2 separate regions of the Homo sapiens genome follow, and region 1 is linked to region 2. Evidence: promoter capture Hi-C in human tissues and cell types (Jung and others, 2019). All regions are on one chromosome and are shown on one strand. Each heading gives the region's core, a stretch centred on a gene start or on the middle of the fragment in contact. The rest is flanking DNA. Distances are from core to core; before and after follow the strand shown. Region 1 overlaps ERLIN1 (ER lipid raft associated 1). Region 2 holds the start of ABCC2 (ATP binding cassette subfamily C member 2).

What was found. The method cuts DNA at HindIII sites, captures the fragments that hold promoters and counts their contacts. A contact is called where the count stands out against the background at its distance.
Region 1: a contact is called between a fragment that was not itself captured here and the fragment with the promoter of ABCC2 in region 2, in 1 of the 25 tissues and cell types used here (mesendoderm cells).

The regions. Positions count from the first base shown.
Region 1 is chr10:100,164,497-100,170,694 of GRCh38, forward strand. ERLIN1 (ER lipid raft associated 1) reads right to left here. Exons shown (of 11, transcript NM_006459.4): 7 at 2,852-2,910. Among named protein-coding and RNA genes, the nearest start is that of ERLIN1, 18 kb to the right of the region's middle. The HindIII fragment of the contact is 3,080 bases long and covers 1-3,029 here.
Region 2 is chr10:99,778,728-99,784,475 of GRCh38, forward strand. ABCC2 (ATP binding cassette subfamily C member 2) reads left to right here and starts at 3,913. Exons shown (of 32, transcript NM_000392.5): 1 at 3,913-4,150. The coding sequence starts at 4,118. RefSeq lists enhancers at 5,111-5,748, 5,641-5,748. The HindIII fragment of the contact is 27,927 bases long and covers 1-5,748 here.

The DNA of each region.
Region 1 (6,198 bases), core at 240-2,739, 380 kb after region 2:
TTGACATGCAGAATGAAGCTGGGTTTCAGCCCCTGCCCTCCTCAGGTGGGCACCCATGTGCAGTGACCATATTTGTTGCACAGAAGATATAACTAGGTGGTAGTTATTAGGTAGTAAACTGGGGCTTACAGTAAGGAGAATTTTCTAAGGCTTCCAGTGTCTAATACAGGTTGAGCATTTCTGATCTGAAAATTTGAAATCCAAAATGCTCCAAAATCTGAAACTTTTTGAGAGCCCACATTATGACACAAGTGGAAAATTCCACACATAAGCACTTAAGGTAAACTTTGTTTCATGCACAAAATTATTTAAAATATTTTATAAAGTTACCTTCAGGCTATAGGTGTATATGGGACATAAATAAAATACCTTAAAAAAAAAAAACTAACCACTATACCAACAAGGAAGAACATAAATAAATTTTATATTTAGACCTGGGTCCCATCCCTGAGATATCTCATTATGTCTATGCAAATATTCCAGAATCTTTACAAATCCAAAATTTAAAATACTTCTGGTCCCAAGCATTTCGGATAAGGGGTACTAAACCTGTAATGGAAATGGCTGGCATATTACTAAGCATGTACAAGTAGCTACTGGGTAACCACGTGGCAGAAATGGTATAAGAAAACACTACTATCAGGTGCAAGGTTATACTGGATCATCCCAAGGTAGCTTTTAATTCTGGAATTCCAATAGTCCATAAAATTAAGAAAGATCCAGAATCATCTGAAAAGTAACTCCAATAGTTTCCCCAAAACACTTCCCCTCAAAGTTTCCCCTTTCCTCTGATAACATTGATAAAGACATCAAATGACAGTCTGAATACTATGATTTATTTGAGAGCAGAAAACACACAATATTCATTTTTCCGTCACCAGAAGCAATCTTTTTTTTTTTTTTTTTTTGAGATGGAGTCTCACTCTGTCACCCAGGCTGGAGTGCAGTGGCACTATCTCGACTCACTGCAAGCTTCGCCTCCTGAGTTCACGCCATTCTCCTGCCTCAGCCTCCCGAGTAGCTGGGACTACAGGCGCCCACCACCATGCCTGGCTAATTTTTTGTATTTTTAGTAGAGACGGGGTTTCATTGTGTTAGCTAGGATGGTCTCGATCTCCTGACCTCGTGATCCGCCCACCTTGGCCTCCCAAAAGTGCTGGGATTACAGGCATGAGCCACCGCACCCAGCCTAAGCAATCATATTTAAAGCCTAAGACATGCTGACAGTTTAATAAAATTTTCTTTTTGAGACAGAGTTTCGTTCTTTTGCCCAGGTTGGAGTGCAATGGCGTGGTCTCGGCTCACTGCAACCTCTACCTCCCCGGTTGAAGCGACTCTCCTACCTCAGCCTCCCCAGTAGCTGGGATTATAGGTGCCTGCCACCATGTCCAGCTAATTTTTCTATTTTTACTGGAGACAGGGTTTCACCATGTTGGCCAGGCTGGTCTCAAACTCTTGAACTCAGGTGATCCGCCGGCCTCAGCCTCCTGAAGTGCTATGATTATAGGCATAAGCCACCACAGCCCGCCTATAAATATTTTTTCAATAAGTGGATCACATCCATAATCTACCCAGCCTGGCAGTCTACATTTTATACTTTTAAAAGAAGAGTTCTTTGTCTACAATGAAAAAGAGAAAACAGGCTGGGTGTGGTGACTCAAGCCTGTAATCCCAGTACTTTGGGAGGCCAAGGCAGGAGGACTGCTTGAGCCCAGGAGTTTGAGACCAGGCTGGGCAACAGGGCAAAACTCCGTCTCTATGAAAAATACAAAATTTAGCTAGGTGTGGTGGCATGCACTGGTAGTCCCAACTACTCAGGAGGCTGAGGTGGGAGGATCGCTTAATCACTTGAGCCTGGGAGGTTGAGACTGCAGTGAGCCGTGATTGTGCCACTGCACTGCAGTCTGGGCAACAGAGCAAGACCTTGTCTCAAAAAAAAAAAAATTAAGAAAAAGAGAAATAAAACTCTGTATGAGCTCAGAGAAGGTATGAGGGAAAAGGAAAATATAAAAGAAGAAAAAAACAATAAAAATCTGCATGGTAACAAAAAGGACTCAGAAGTAAACAACCTCATAAAGTAGTATTACTGCTCCTTGGACTTCCAGTATTTATACATCTGTGGTATCCTTGACTTGTGCAAATTTATTTTTCCAGCGTCTTATACTTTCCCTTTTAACACATCAGCCAAATTTCCTAAAGACTTTTATTTCTTCTTTTCAGTACCAGTCATACGAAAACAATATTGCCATTTCAAACACAGTAAGTATTCCCCTAAAAGGGATCCTGTCAGAAACTAATTTCATGTCTTCTCATTCCCAGTCAGCCCTGGATACATAAAAGAGAAGACTACCAGGAGTCAACAGAAGCAAGGCTTCCCTAGAGGCACATTATAAAGAACCAGGTCTAATTTTAGATATACAATCACATACAATGGAAAACCAAACTTTATACCAACAAGGTATCTATTCCTACCATTACAACACAGAAACAAAATATGAGCACTCTCTTCAACCCTAACGGCTTCAGGACTCTTTCCTCTATTAAATATTTAATTCAAGGTACTATTCATATAAAATTATAGCTCCTTAAGCTTCCAGCAATAGTTTTACAGCAAACTGCATCTTTAGCCACTGAAACTGCTCCTGAAATGTCCATACATAAAGAGAACACTAGTAAGAGTCTAGTGGGAATTAAGACACAAGAATAGGCAATATTACTAGAGTAAGAGTAAAGAAGATAAGACACATACTCCACCCCAGAGTGTATTGTCTCACATGTTTCCTCTAGACTGGAATATTAATATGCAGACAGCCCTAAACAGAAATATTGGGATCCCATGCATATTACTCACATTAACTCAAAATTTCTTCTTATGGCTTCTGGGATTTTGGGTTTTGTAACACGCACAGCCTAAAAAATAAAAGTGAAAAAGCCAAAGTATATTTGAAAGATAAATCTTCAAATTAAATCTTCTACAGAAAAGCCCCTCAAATGATACTAATCTAATAAACAACAGCTATAATATAGCGGCCTACTAACACGTTTGGGGATCCCACCAGAACATTTACTTTTCATGCCATCACACCAAGAATCAAAGACAAGCTGCTTCTTATTTCCTTACACAATGCCAGATTACAGGAAAAACCATCTACCCACTGAGGAAACAACTGCCTTATGAAAAAGGTTCTCACTTAAAAGATGTTTTACAAAGGTCGTTAGATACTTTTGCTTTCTTTTTCAACCCTGTAAACCAAAGAAGCCGGGAAGGCAAAGTTCCAAGACTGAAATTGTAAAGTCAGAAACAATTAGTCAAATACAAAAACAAACAAAAAAACCCAGGTTGGTGTATACAATTTAATACAGTGAGTAGTGAGTAAATTAATCTATCACTTCCAACCCCTGCAATCACTTGGTATTTGCTGTAAGTAAACAGCCCACTGGCTGAAGGAAAACAAATATCAATTAAAAGCTTATATTCTTTCTTCCTTAACTCTCACTTAGAACAAAGTCTGTCTTTGTAGAGGCTGTTTACCAGACACTTTGTTTCCCTAATCATAGTGTTCTTTGACACAATTAAGATTATCTACCTGGACAGTACTGTTTTTTGAAGGCTGACTTTTCTACATCAAGGACTTGATCTCTCAAAAGCTTTTGATTTTACTAAACATACGATACCCCGCCGCCCCACCTATACTGCAAACACACACAAAAAACACTTTGCTGGTCTGAAGAAGTTTTCCTTCTGAAAACTGGCTAACCTTTTAAGAATAACAAAGCCTTTAAGCACTTAGTCTTCTTTAAAGGCTTTTAAAACTTTTAAGCGATATAGCATTTCCTATATGAAATAGATGAGTCAAATTTGTAGGTAATTTTGAGGACAATCATAACTAAATATAAGGATTACAGTGGAATGGAATAAGCAGCTGAAGGCTGTGTGGAAAAAACTCACAACACACTGGCAGTGACACATGTGAGGCCTCACAACTCAGTGGAGACATGCAGAAGACAAATAAAAATTCAGGACCAGATTTTGTGAGATGTCAGATTTCACCATGTGACTAGCAGACATAAGATTACTTCCAATATGGATTAATATGATTCAAGGAAGCACTGTCATACTGCATTTAATTAAGAGACTGGCCACATATCTTTTTAGCCTTATTAAAAGAAGCGTAAAGTAGGACTTTTTTTTTTTTTTTTGAGATGGAGTTTTGCTCTTGTTACCCAGGCTGGAGTGCGGTGGTGCAATCTCAGTTCACTGCAACCTCCGCCTCCCAGGTTCAAGCGATTCTTCTGCCTCAGCCTCCTTAGTTGCTGGGATTACAGGCATGCGCCACCAAGCCCGACTAATTTTTGTATTGTTTTTTAGTAGAGACAGGGTTTCACTGTGTTGGTCAAGCTGGTCTCGAACTCCTGAACTCAGGTGATCCAACCACCTCGGCCTCCCAAAGTGCTGGGATTACAGGCGTGAGCCACCACACTCGGCCAGGACTGTCTTTTGAAGACTCCTATTTTGCTGAATGAGGCTGAAGAACATACTACATTGTGCTTGCCAATCTTGGGAAATCTCACAGATTTTCAAATATGTGAAAACATAAACACTTACTGTACAGATACCATGAGTAAGTTGCATCAAAAGAGATTTTAAAAGTAAAAGTGGGAAGTCCCACTCAGGCACCCCTCTCCCTCACAGGAGAGAGAGCTATTCTCCTTTCTGTTTCTTTTGCCTATTAAACCTCTGCTCTTAACCTCAAATAATAAAATAATGCCCCCATCCCACTCACATACATAGAGTGAATGGAGGAAAAAAATGGCTAATGAAAGGAATATATGTATTGAAACTGACCCCTGGGTTTTAAGCATATATTATATATCAAAAGCCAGTCTATAATATAGTCACTCCCTTAAATAACATAGGAAAAAAAAAATCAAAGATGACCATTTTCATCATTCTAATTTGCCAGAGTAGTTTTTCAAGAAGAAAAATGGTATATAAATATATGGAAAGGAAAAAAATATAATAGTGACTGTAAAAATAGTAACCCAAAAATTACTAGAAGGCAGTGAATTCAAGTTGTAGATATAAGATAAATCTACCAAGAATCAATCACATTCCTCAATGATTAAAAAAAAAAAAGACTACATATTGAACAGCATTAAAATTCATTAAATCCATTGGTATTAATTTAACTTAGGATATGAGTTTCTCCCCTAAATCAGAAATTCTAAAAACCAAAAAGGCTGATATGATAAAGTAAAGCCATAAACTATGTTTCTATTTTTAACTTATATTGGAGGATTGCATGAGGCCAGGAGTTTGAGACCAGCCTGGGCAACACGGCAAAGGCCCATCTCTACAAAAAATAAAAAAATTAGCCAGATGTGGGGGTGTGTACCTGTACTCCTAGCTACTTGGGAGGCTAAGGCAGGAGAATCACTTGAGCCCAGGAGTTCAAGGCTGCAGTGACCTATGATCATGCCACTGCACTCCAGCCTGGGCAACAGAGGGAGACCCTGTCTCAAAACAAAACAAAACAAAACAACATGTATATGACCACTTAGGTGCCTGATATAGCTTGAAAATATCGATAATGAAAACTCATCTGGAAGATTAAGCTGGCAGAAACAGCAAAGGCCATTATTTTTTAAAAGATGATGTCTCTTGCCAGATTTTAAAATAAAAAGTTGAATTATCACAACCATATGGTAATGTGTTAAAAATAACAAAGCTCAAAAACAGCCTTGAAATTCTTAAAATGCATTCCAACTATTGTAAAAAAAATTTTATAACAAGACAAAAGCAACCAAAGCAAAGGAGCTCTTCTCTTCTCAGGGTATGCTTAAGTTATTGCAAAATATAAAAATTATTTTAAAATTTTTTTAAACCCTAAAACAATGGAGATCTCTACCACTTTAAGAACGTATAACAAAACTACATTTTTTCAATCAATAACTTTTTATAAAAACAGCAAATAAATATAAGTAAATTCAAAAGATCCTTCTGGCTGTTGTGCAGAAAATGAAGTAGACAAAGGTAAAAGTGAAAGTGGGGAAAGAAGACAGGCGGCTACTGCTACTGCACATGTCAAGGTTAGAGTTGGTAGCTTGGCTTGAGATGACAGTGAAGATGGAGGTGTGGTCAGTTTTATTAATACATGGATTTTGGTGGTGGAATCTGCAGGACATAGGGACTGATTA
Region 2 (5,748 bases), core at 2,663-5,162:
CTTTTCTCCTCTACAAGTAAGGTCTTTTTCCCCGGGCTTCATTCAGAATTTTTTATCTTTGATTTCCTGCAACTTATATATGCATGCCTGGTTGTAGGGCTTTTGTTTGTTTGTTTGGCATTTGTTCTACTTGGTGTTCTCTCAACTTCTGTGATCTGTGATTTGGTGTCTGAAATTAGTATGAGGGAAATTCTCTTTCATTATTGCTTCAAATATTTATTCTGTTCCTTTCTCTGGTTATTCTCTTCCTGCTATTTCCATTACACATATGTTATACCCTTTGTAGTTGTCCCATAGTTCTTGGAGATTCTGTTTATATAGTCTTACTTATTTTTGCAGTTTTGGCAGTTATTTTCAAGTTCAAATATTCTGTTTTCAGCCTTGTTCAGTCTACCAAAAAGCCCATCAAAGGCATTCTTTATTTCTATTACAGTGTTTTTGATCTCTAGTATTTATTTCTTTTTAGTTCTTTCTTAGAATTTAAACTCTCTGCTTACATCGACCCATTTGTTCTTGTATGCTGTCTACTTTATCCATTAGAGCCCTTGGCATTGTGATCATAGTTGTTTTAAATTTCTGGTCTGATAATTCCAACATCCCAGTCATATCTGAGTTTGGTTCTGAGGCTTGCTCTCTGTCTCTTTAAAGCCTTTTTTTTTTCTTTTTTTTTTTTTGCCTTTTAGTATGCCTGGCAATGTTTTCTTCATAGCTGGACAGGATATACGGAGTAAAAGGAAGTGCTGTAACTAGACCTTTAGTAGTGTGGTATACAGTGGGGGAGGGGGAGAGGAAGAGTTCTATAGTTCTGTGAAGAGGTCTCAGTCTTTTAGTAAACCTGTGTCTCTAGACTGAATTTCACAAGTGCTTCTCAGTTCCTATCTGCCCCGATCCCTGTTAGGTGGGACGTGATGGCTAGAGTGGGCTGCAGCTGGGTATTTTCAGTTTTCATGTGGAAGGCTAGAAGAGACTGGAGTTCTTATTTCCCTTCTCCGGCATCATTTAGGCTCCTATAAATCAAGAGCATTAGGCTCTATTTAAACAGTTTTTCCCAAGGGCAGACTTTGTTTAGAAGAGAAGAATAGAGTGTCCAGGTATATTTCAAATGGTTACTTTTCCTATCCCCTCTGCCAGGGACATGGAAGCAGGAGGAGATTTTTCTCTAATAAAAAGAGAACAATATTTGAGAACCTCTTTGAATTCCTATGGGTAAACTCATGAAAGTGTGGAGATCATCCCCTCCTTATGGCTGAGTCACTCTGGAATTTTTCTCTCTCAAACTTATCTACACTGGGCCTCCGGCAATTCAATTACAGTTCAGGTTTTCCTGCCCTAGCCCTGGTTCCTGCTGAGATTTCTTTTCTTTTTTCTTTTTTTTTTTTTTTTTTTTTTTGAGACAGTGTCTCTGTTGCCCAGGCTGGAGTGCAGTGGCGTGATCTCAAGTCACTGCAAGCTCCGCTTCCCGGGTTCACGCCATTCTCCTGCCTCAGCATCTCCGAGTAGCTGGGACTACAGGCGCCCGGCACCACGCCCGGCCAATTTTTTGTATTTTTAGTAGAGACAGGGTTTCACTGTGGTCTCGATCTCCTGACCTCGTGATCCGCCCGCCTCGGCCTCCCAAAGTGCTGGGATTACAAGCGTGAGCCACCGCGCCCGGCCCCTGCTGAGATTTCTGCGCCAGTAAATTGTGATTTTTGATATTCTCTTGTTTATCTCTTCAGTTTGCCCTGTAACCTTATCTCTCTACAGATCTAAGAAGAGTTATTGATTTTTCTATTTGTTCAGATTTTTAGTTATTGTTAGGAAAGATTCATGACTTCCTGGCTCCTTACTTGCTTTTCTCATTCAATATTCCCTATGAGTACATATTTTATACTTTAAGCAACTTGTTTTGATGAACATTTAGATTCTCCACCCTCTCTTTTTTTGATTACTTAGAACGTTTAGGCCAGACACGATGGCTCATGCCTGTAATCCCAGCAGTTTGGGAGGCCGAGGCGAATGGATCGCTTGAGCCCAGGAGTTTGAGGCTCTACAAAAAAATTAAAAAAAGAAAATTAGGTGTTAATCCTTGACCTTATATTTCTCAAAGTTTTACCAAGAGTTCCCCCGGACTCCGAGTCCTACCACCAGTGCCAAGAGAAGTATGCAGCCTAAAGGTGCACCCTGCCCCAAGTGAGATCTCTTAGTTCCACAGCTGACCTTTCCTGGCTCTTCTGGTGAGTGGTATGGAAAATGATGGAGAAACTGCCATATGTTTTCATAATGGTCAGACCAATTTACATTTCCATCAACAGTATACTAGGGTTCCCTTTTCTCCACACCCTTGCCAGCACTTATCTTGTTGTTTTTTTTTTTTTTTTGTAATAGCCATCCTAATAGGTATGAGGTGGTATCTAACTGTGGTTTTGATTTGTGTTTTCCAGATGACTTGTGAAGTTGATTCAGTTGTCATATACCTGTTGGCCATTTATATGTCTTCTTTGGAAAAGTGTCTGTTCAAGTCCTTTGCCCACTTTTTAATTTGTTAGTGTATGTTTGCTATTGAGTTGTATGAGTTCCTTATAGTATATTGTGGATATTAACTCTTCATCAGTTATATGGTCTGCAAATATTTTCTCCCACACTGAATGCTGCCTTTTCATTTTTTTTATGTGTATACTTGACTTTTAAAATCAGTAACAAGGTCCATACAATTCACATTTGGCTGATATGCCTCTTGATTCTCTTGTAATTTGTAAGTTCCTTTGACTCCTTTCCTTCTTTTAATTTATTTATTAAAAAATGGAATCATTTGCACTATAGAATCTCCCACATTCTGGATTTTGACAATTGCATTCCAATGGAGTCCTTTAGCATGTTCCTGTGTTTCTTATAATCCGGTAGTTAGATCTAGAATTTGACCAGATTTAAGGCCAATTTTTTTTAGCTAGGATACTGCATGGGTGGTTATGTTTTAGCTAGGATACCGCATGGGTGGTTCATGATATCATGAAAAAAGCATGTTCTTAAAGCAATTTAAGTGACAGTACAAAAGGTTGGGTCAGGTGGGGCACGGTAGCTCATGCCTGCAATCCCAGCCCTTTGGGAGGCCAAGGCAGAAGGATTGTTGAAGCCTGGAGTTTGAGACCAGCCTGGGCAACATAGTGAGACCCCGTCCCTACAGAAAACATTTTTTTAATTAGCTGGGCTTGTTGGCATGTGCCTGTAGTCCCAGCTACTCAGGAAGCTGAGGCAGGAAGATCGCTTGAACCCATGAGGTCAAGGCTGCAATGAATCATGATGGCAACACTGCACTCTAGCTCAGGCAACAGACCAAGACCCTGTCTCAAAAAACAAAAAACAATAACAAAAAAAGAAAAGGTTGGGTCGATGACAGTTTCTAGCGACTGATGCCACCACTCTGTTTACAGAATCACCCCTCTCCTCTGGCCCTGATGTTTTATCATGATATCATATTTACAATGCCTGGCAAAGGCTTCATTCCCATTTGGCATACTACCTCTCAGGCAAATAGAACTTTTGAAAGCCTGTATTATGTATATAACATATAGGCTCACACTGGATAAGCTATTTTATAACCTGACTTCTTCAAAGAAAGTTTACATCATGTTTAAACCATGTTTTAGATTCTATATTTTTAATTAAAAATCTAAGGAAGAAGGATATTTCACATTTCTATAAACTCTAAGATCTTGCAGCAGAAGCGAAACTGCACATTTAGGGGTGCCTGCCCCTCTACTGATGCTGCCCTTTGTGGGTCATATGTCCTTAGGAAAATGAAAGACTGTGCACTCTTGATTTGTTGGCCAGCTCTGTTGACATCTTTCAGTGGTTCCTTTTATGTATGGCCACTCCTACAGAGGCCTCTTGTACTTTGGGAACTGGTGAGTCTCCCTGTCCCTAGGGCTTTTTAGTCACATGTCCATCCACTGTTTCAATGTAACATGCATCTAGGCAAGGTTAACGATTAAATGGTTGGGATGAAAGGTCATCCTTTACGGAGAACATCAGAATGGTAGATAATTCCTGTTCCACTTTCTTTGATGAAACAAGTAAAGAAGAAACAACACAATCATATTAATAGAAGAGTCTTCGTTCCAGACGCAGTCCAGGAATCATGCTGGAGAAGTTCTGCAACTCTACTTTTTGGGTGAGAAATTACATTTATCTTCATATTGACTCTTCTCAGACTCAGAACAAGTGGTAGTTAGTTAACTTAGGGTGGTCACCAACAAGAACCAGAAATGTTAGATGTGCAATTGGTCTAAAGCTCAGGCTTTTTAGAAAGCATAATTCATAATATCTCCAGAGGATATAAGATCTGGGAAATGTAATGCAAATTATTCTCTGTCATATGTTTTTTTATATCAGACTCTTGTACTAGCTAGTCGCAAAATTGCCTTCTCTAAAGAGAAACAGGTAAAAACCTTCCAATTTAATCCGTGTGAGGAAGGAGAATTGTTGTTGCATACTTTGCTAGTAGAAGGAAGAGAAGATCCGTGACTGAGTCTTGCTGAGACATGTTGATGTTGAAATGATAATGATAAGTTCTAGAACTGGCAACTAATGATATGGACTAGAAGTTGAGTCTAGGGATGCAACTTTGGGCATCATGAGCATTGAAATAATTTTTGAACAACTAGAGTTGGGTAATATTGTTTTTAAGGAAAAGAAGAGACACCACTTAGAGGGTGAACAAGAACAGTGTAACATTACGGAGTCATAGATAGCAAAAAATTTCAAGATAGGGGCCAATCAACAGTATCAAAGGTCTAGTGGAATAGAAAACAAAAAAGGACCTTAGATTTAGTGATTTTAGTAAGGGTTTGGTGAGAAAGTATCATCTGCAAACTCCTAGCCTCAGCATCAGAATCACCTGGGGCAATAAATGTAGTTTAAGTATCTTAAGTGATTCTTCTGAATTCTAACATTTGATAACCTTATATAGAGGTGAGAGGGGCAGGGATGAGATAGCAGAGCACCTGGGCAGCACCTCGTGTCTTAGAAAGGACCTGGGTCCCAAGACCCTCGAGGCCAGGAGTGTATACCACGGCAAGGTGGATCTTCATGGGCTATAGTATCTAGACAGGCCATCTCTTGAGAATTCTTTCTGAGAACTACCTGACAAACTTTCTTGGTCAGGGCATCGCAAGCAATTCTTTAAAGAGTCTGTATAAATAATCATATAAAACAATTTTTAACTATTTATAGGAAAAGAAAAATCCACACTCATGTGACTCAGATACAAGAATTGGTGCCCACCCCCCACCCCCCAACTTCCACTTCACAAGACACTTCCATTTATCGCAGAATGCAAAGACTGCACAAAACTTGCTGGTTGGAAGCCTTCTGTCCAACAATGCTGTTGTCACTGCTGTGCTGAAACTGGCCAGGTTTTTAATGTAAGCGCTTTGGGCCATCAGAGAGCAAATGTTACAGTATGACTAAGCATTCTCCCTGCATGGCGCCTGCATGTTTGAATATCTGCCAGTGAGTTCAGTTAGTGCTAGAAACTTGAATAATTTTTTATATCCCAGGGAACTATTCTGTCCTTTAAACTGGGGAACAGTCCTTCTTCATCCTATAATTTGGCAAATGCAGTGGTGAGGTTTACTCAGAATAGCTGGTACAAAATTCACTTAGAATCACAAGAAGACACGTTTTTGGAGGGTGGGTTGGCCAGAAAGTGACTACATTTGTCATTAAATGGTGAATTTGTATCCATGTGCACAAATAGGAAAATACGGA